2 separate regions of the Homo sapiens genome follow, and region 1 is linked to region 2. The links are contacts of gene promoters, found by promoter capture Hi-C in blood cells and fetal thymus (Javierre and others, 2016). All regions are on one chromosome and are shown on one strand. The core of a region is centred on a gene start or on the middle of the fragment in contact, and the rest is flanking DNA. Distances in the headings are between cores, read along the strand shown.

The links. The method cuts DNA at HindIII sites, captures the fragments that hold promoters and counts their contacts. A CHiCAGO score of 5 or more calls a contact.
Region 1: a contact is called between a fragment that was not itself captured here and the fragment with the promoter of NDUFS4 in region 2, in 2 of 17 cell types (naive B cells and M0 macrophages). The highest score is 5.2, in naive B cells.

Annotation. Positions count from the first base shown.
Region 1 is chr5:54,135,464-54,139,233 of GRCh38, forward strand. The region is part of intron 3 of ARL15 (ARF like GTPase 15); the gene reads right to left. Among named protein-coding and RNA genes, the nearest start is that of ARL15, 170 kb to the right of the region's middle. The HindIII fragment of the contact is 1,711 bases long and covers 666-2,376 here.
Region 2 is chr5:53,559,139-53,562,603 of GRCh38, forward strand. NDUFS4 (NADH:ubiquinone oxidoreductase subunit S4) reads left to right here and starts at 1,501. Exons shown (of 5, transcript NM_002495.4): 1 at 1,501-1,622. The coding sequence starts at 1,525. RefSeq lists an enhancer at 1,403-1,902. The HindIII fragment of the contact is 3,063 bases long and covers 1-1,649 here.

The sequences.
Region 1 (3,770 bases), core at 271-2,770, 580 kb after region 2:
TTGAAAAGTGATCCTTCAGAATACATGACACCTAAATTCATGTTTCCCAATTACTATCTAGGGGAGCTGTACTATTTGTTAGTGTGGCTCCACAAGGCAGAGCTAAGATTATTTTAACAAAGAAACAGAGAGTTGCATTTTAGTAAATTATAATGAATGATAATAATGAAAACTCTTCAAACATGGCATATATACATACTTTCTGAGACTGACTTCCTCACCATGCAAGTACTCAGTTTGGGACTGTTCAGTTCAGTCACATGCCAGAGATTTGAAAACAGCAAATTCCTATTTGGTGTAACAGGTTTGAGCAAGAAATGTCTGATTTAACAAATATGGTTTCATATTCTTTTATGAGATAAAAACTGCTGGAAGGTAGAATGCTATTATAAGACTCATTTCTGAAGGAGACTGCATACCCAACTTTCCTGACACTGCTTCTGAGAAGGACAGGTTAGACCACTGCCCACTGCAGCAAATGCACCCATAGCCCACTCTGAGTTCCAGAGTGATGGTAGAAAATCTGGAAAACACTGCCTTGTCTCATGTGGGGCAGAGTTTCAAGACAGCAGAAGGCAAGGGAGATCAGAAACATCACCTTGTTATTCAGGTAAACTGTAAAAGTATATAAAAATATATAAGCCATCAAGAACAATGAATTTATAAGCTTTATTCCCACTCTCTTTGTATACTGACTCCCAGATTCATTGACTCATTTAGTACAATTTTATCAGCAAAAAAAATTTTAAAAATGACTACTTAACTAATGGATAATGTATATTTAATATGCGATTTTCTAATCATCCTTCAAATACCTTCAATAGCCAGCTACATCATGAGAGATATATCTGCATGTTTAAGATTAATTCAAATTATAAGGAGAATTCAAAAGTGAATTAAAATGTGACTTACAGCCAGTAAAATACAAGCAAGTCAATTTTTCAATGCATCTTGACTAAATGTAAAATATCATCTGTTTTTGTGACAAACAAGTCTGTATCATTAATCATATGCTTCCAGCTGCAACAGCTCGCATTCAAATTAAAACCATGAAATAGCATCACAGTGTCAAGATTCACGCAAACTGATCTTTTAACAGATTGTGAGGGAAAAAAAAACATACATTAAAAGAAGAATCTGGAGAAAATGTTACACAATAAAAACATCTGAAAGAGCTTAAGCACACAAGATAGAATTCTGGTTTTTGAACTGTATTGGAATTAAATGTTAAACAAAACTCACAGCCTGCTCTTAAACAACGAACACATCATAAAAAATAATTCTTTTTATAGCCACAGGGCTGAGAGTTTTGCTGTTTATATCTATCCCAGCATACAAATCCATAGTACTGCCAGGACTGTCCCCTCTGACTTTACTGGGAAGCTAGACAGGACAGTCTGCCTGGGTTTTTTTTTTTTTTTTAGTTTAGTTCAGTTTGTGTCCAAAACTGGCCCAAGAATCATCTCTTCTTCAGTCACTACACTCTTGCCTGCCAGTTGCACAGCTCCAAACATTCTCCTTCCAGCTACAGATATTAAAATGTTTTGTTGTTTTAAAATTTGATTTAGAACTGCAGTAGATAACCTTTTTTTTTTTTTTGCTTCAGGCTCCCCTAGGTCAGCAAGGCATAGTAATGTTCAAACAGTGCAACAGCAGCCACTCATTGCACATTAAAAACAAGGATGGTGCCAGGAACCAGCAAAGTGATATATTCTAGGTTAGCCATGTCAGGCATTTTCCAGTCCCAAAGCAGGTTTCATATGGTCAGCACATGGGCCAAATGATGCACATGGCCGTCCTGCACTTGCCCCTTGTGTCCTCCTCTGGTGACCTGCCCCATTGAACTCCCTGGACGAGATTCCCAGCGATGCTATGCAAAGAGGACATGTTCCTCTGAGAGTATTTTCTGCATTAGGGCTCACATTGTATTGCCATGGGACTTTACACTTTTAGGGTATAACCTGACATGCCACAACCTTTTCTTCCACTCCTCAGTTGACACCTCTTTAAACTGGTGGCCCAGCCCTAGCCTAGTACACATAAAAACGATAATAGCCACTCTGCCAATCAAGGTTAATATTTCAGCTTCTCTAATAAACCTGGGGTAGACACCATGATACAATATATAAAAACAAGAAAAGTAAAAATTCAGAACTTTATCTCAAAATTGTGCAGGCTCTTACCTACTAGATTTCCTTATCTTGTAACCATCATTTCTTTGTTCTTTTGTTCCTTGTTCACAGAGATATTGTTCCAGATGATAAATGGAGGAGTATGTAAGATTTTAATTTCATCACAGCCTATAAAGAATATTCCCAATGAAATTTAATGTGAATTTTAAATTGTATATTATAGTTGGGCATGGTGGATTTCAGAAGCTTTGAATCCCGTAACATGGATTTTAAGAGAGAAAGCTTTTTTTTTTTTTAAAGGAAAGTAGGATGAGGAAATAATATGAGGAGAACATGCAGTGACTAATCACTTACAAAAGAGAATTTTAGAGTCAAAGTATGCCTTAGAAATGGTCTGGAAAATACGCAGCCAAATCAAATAACTTAATATGTATTGAGACTTCAATGTTTACAGAAAATTTGAAACCTTTTATAAAACCACTAATTCTTTTGTAATGCTACAAATTACTTAATAAGAGTTACTAATGTATAAATCTCTATTATTATATTTAGGATTTTCTTCCAGAAGAGTACCACCACACATCTTAAAATAGGAGGATCTCGATCCAGGTACAGTGGCTCATGCCTGTCCCAACATTTCGGGAGGCCAAGGTGGGAGAATCACTTGAGGCCAGGAGTTCGAGGCCAGCCTAGGCAACATAGTGAGACCCCATCTCTAAAAAAATAAAAATAAAAATTACCAATGGAACAGGATAGAGAATGCAGAAATAAAGCTAAACGCAACCAACTGACCTTTGGCAAAGCACACAAAAATATAAATTGAGAAAAGGACATCTTATTTAATAAACGGTGCTGGAAAACAAGATGACCAGATGTAGAAGAACAAAACTGGATCCCTACCTCTCCACTTACACAAAAATCAACCCAAGATGGATCCAGACATAAATCTAAGACCAGAATCTGTAAGAATTCTAGAAGAAAACCTAGGAAAAACACTTCTGGACATTGGTCTAGGCAAAGGATTTATGACTAAGACCCCAAAAGCAAATGCAACAAAAACAAAAATAAATAAATAAATGGGACCTAATTAAACTAAAAAGCTTCTGCACAGCCGAAGAAATAATCATCAGAGTAAACAGCCCACAGAATGGGAGAAAAAATCTGCAAACTATGCATCCAACAAAGGACTAATATCCAGAATCTACAAGGAACTCAAACAAATCAGCAAGAAAAAAACAATCCTATCAAAAAATAGGCAAATGACATGAATAGATATTCCTCAAAAGAAGATATACAAATGGTCAACAAACATGTGAAAAAATGCCCAATATCAGTAATCATCAGGGAAATGCAAATTAAACTCATAAGATATCACCTTACCCCAGCAAGAATGGCCATTATTAAAAAGTCAAGAAAAATAGATGTTGGTGTAGATATGGTGAAAAAGGAATGCTTATACACCGCTGGTGGGAATGTAAATTAGTACAACCTCTATGGAAAACAGTATGGTGATTTCTCAAAGAACTAAAGGTATATCTACCATTCGATCCAGCAGTCCCACTACTAGGTATCTACCTAAAAGAAAAGAAGTCATTGTATCAGGAAGACACCTGTACACACATGTTTATCACAGCACAA
Region 2 (3,465 bases), core at 251-2,750:
TGTGGTACATCCATGTCATGGAATATTACTCAGCAATAAAAAAGGAATGAACTATTGATAAACACAACAACTTGGATGGGTCTCAAGTGCATTATGCCAAGTGAAAGAAGCCAATCTTAGAAGGTCATGTACTGCATGAGTCCATTCATATAACATCTCAAAATGTCAAAATTATAAAAACAGAAACAGAGATCACTAGGGTTAGGAGGGCAGGTGTTACCAAAAAGGTTAGCACTAGGGAGATCTTTGTGAGGGTGGAATAGTTCTGTATCTTGATCATGGTGGTGGTTACACAAAATATGTAGTAGAATGACATAGGACTACACAAATACTTTATATCAATGCCAGTTTCCTGGCTTTGATACTGTACTAGAGTTATACGAGATGTAATCACTGGGGGAAACAGGTACACAAGACATCTGTACTATCTTTGCAACTTCATGTGAATCTATAACTATTTCAAAATGAAAAGTTTGAAAGAAAATTTTCTCTGAGGCATCTCTCCCTTGCCTTCCTTCATCTTGTGCATTTCTTTCCCTGAGTATGACTTTTTCTCTTTCTTTCTCCCTTTCCCTTATGTACTGGGTTTTCCTTTAACGGTCCATAATGCCAAACTATGTCATTCCCCATCCTCCTATTGTTCCTATTTATTTAATGAAGGTTATGTTTTCATGTGCTTAATTTTAAAAGCAGGAAAGTACTAACTCTTTAAACAAATTTCTTAAAAAACAAAACCCAAAACTAACCTGCTTTTTATTTTATATAATTCAGTTAGTCATTATTCTTTAAGGTCGGAAGTCCACAATACAAACATGTTTCCAACACTTGTATTGGAAGATAATTTTTGTTTTATATGCATGGAGCATTAATATCATTCTTCATGTCTATGGATTATGAACACACACACATTCAGGATTTACTGGGGAAACAGTGACATCAAATATTATGTTCTATTGATTCTTCATATAAATCTACATGTCAAAAAATAATCCTTTGCCAGATCACGTATCCAGATTTTTCGTTTGGAAAATACGAACATTACTACTACAGAATATCAAACTGAATACAGCCCTGTCCTGAGGGCTTGCAAAGTGAATCTGGCAATACTTTGGAAAAGTACTACTGCAGGTTCTCAAGGACCCAAAGAGCTCTCCAGCTTTTCCAGTGGGTTCAGCCCCAAATATCCTAATTTCTTCAATAAATTACGAGTTGCAGGTGTTTAAATATGCAAGTATATTTTGGTCTTTTCGTTATCATTGTAAAACACCAGTCCTAACAAGCAGTAAAGATTACACTTTATGGTGGTAATATTTACAGTTAATGCACTTCTGCATTTCTTCCCGCACATTTTTCTTCTTACTTATTTAAACTAAGCGTTTCCCCTCTTTTTTTAAGCCCCAGTATTAAAAAGAAAATAAAATCCCAAAGAATTTCGCAACATTGCGATTGCACTGGCTTGAGAACGAAGGAAGTTAGTCCCTTGCGGTGATCCGTCCTTTCATCCTGGCGTTTGCCTGCAGCAAGATGGCGGCGGTGTCAATGTCAGTGGTACTGAGGCAGACGTTGTGGCGGAGAAGGGCAGTGGCTGTAGCTGCCCTTTCCGTTTCCAGGGTTCCGACCAGGTAATAGAATTTTCACACTTTTCTTCAAGCTTCTTGGGTCCCTCCATTTTTGCGGAGTCTCTGCTGGCTGAGTTCCGGAGGAGGCCTCGGGGAAGGCGTCCTCTGTTGACCCTTTTCTCGGGAGAAGTCGGGCGGACTAGGGACTGTCTGCTATCAATGGGCGTTGGCCAGGCGAGTGAGGGCGTGAGTGCGAGGCCGGGGAGGAGGACCTGTGGTTTTCTGGAAGCTTTCGTATTCGGCTTGTCGCTGAGGGAGAGGGTCCGTGGAGGTTTTGCCTCCGGAGCTGCAAGCTGAACCTTAGCCCTCAGAGAAGGGGAGGAGTCTCACTGATTTCTGTTTCCACTTTCTGCATCCCTTCCATTTGTCACCTGTTTGCCCACCACTCCAGTCCTTACAGAAGGGTTAAATCACTGTATCCCTTCCATGGTTTTAAGTGGTTTTAATTTGGTTTCTGCATAGGAAGATTGTTTATTCATCAGTCTGCTTGGGAGGAAAACTTGTTTGGAATTCAGTGTTAGTAAAAATATCACTGCTAGTAATATTGGAAGGTAATTTTTAAAAGGCTGGTGGTAATGCCTGGAGGTTTTCTAGGGATTTTGTTAAAGCCTCACAATAATTCAGGGATTGAATTGAGTTGTTGAGGGCTCTTTGCGTCCTTGAGAACCTAAAGTAGTACTTTTCCAAAGTATTGTCAGATTCAGTTGTCAGTTGATTGAGTTGTTACTGTTTTTCCTTGAAGCATTTTTGTGATGATTTTTTTTTTTTTGGCTGTATTAACCTTCCATTTTCTATTTTTCAGAATTTCCTGGAGTTTTTTAAATTATAGTACTAATGCTATACGTACATACACACACATATTAGAACAAAGATTGGAAAGACTGGATGGAGAGATTTGAAGGGGGTAGGAGGTGGATGCAAGTGGTTAAAAGTTGAAAGGAAGGTCTAGTAGAATGCTAATTGATTTAGTGTTAAATATAAATGGAATGCAGAGAATTAGGATGAGTTAATTCGGAAGAATTTTTAAGGATGAGTTTTATTAAGGTTTAAATATAGTGGGTGTTGGGTGGGAAAGAAGAGAGTGTCCCGTAGGGTCCGTGGCTTATGAAAAGGCTTGAAAGCATTAGTTAAACGATTACTAAATACATAGAATAGAGTCACTCAAAAGTAAGGGTGCTAAGATTGGGGAAAGGCAAATGATGTTTGTAATTAAGTGTTCCATATATGGAAAGTATTTTTCCTTTTTCTTTCTCTTTTTTTTTTTGAGATACATTCTCACTCTGACGCCCAGGCTGTAGTGCAATGGCGTGATCTTGGTTCACTGCAACCTCCGCCTCCCGGGTTCAAGCAGTTCTCCTGCCGCAGCCTCCTGACTAGCTGGGATTACAGGCGCGCACCACCACACCTGGCTAATTTTTGTATTTTTAGTAGAGGCGGGGTTTCACCATGTTGGTCAGGCTGGGTTAAGTATTTTTCTAAGGTAAAATACTTCACTGGTTAACTTAGAGTTAATATAGCGGTGACCAAGATTAGCCCTTCCTCCCGTACAGATTATAGGGATTAATTGTCATTCCCAGATAATAATGTACTCATGGTAGCCCCAGAACTGAAAACAAGTTTGAAGGGACCACTGGTTTATGGCTAATCAAAACATGGCTGTAATTTTAAGTCAAAGCCATTTTGTCAGCAATTATAGTAATTGAAGTTGAGATTAGATTTTTGAAACTCTGATGATAATTGTTACTACATATCCAAACTTAAGAGTTTTTGCCTGCAAATGTAAGAGATTTGAAAATAAATCATTTAATCTTGAAAAAAAATCTTAATGCCAGGGAAGACGTTTTTT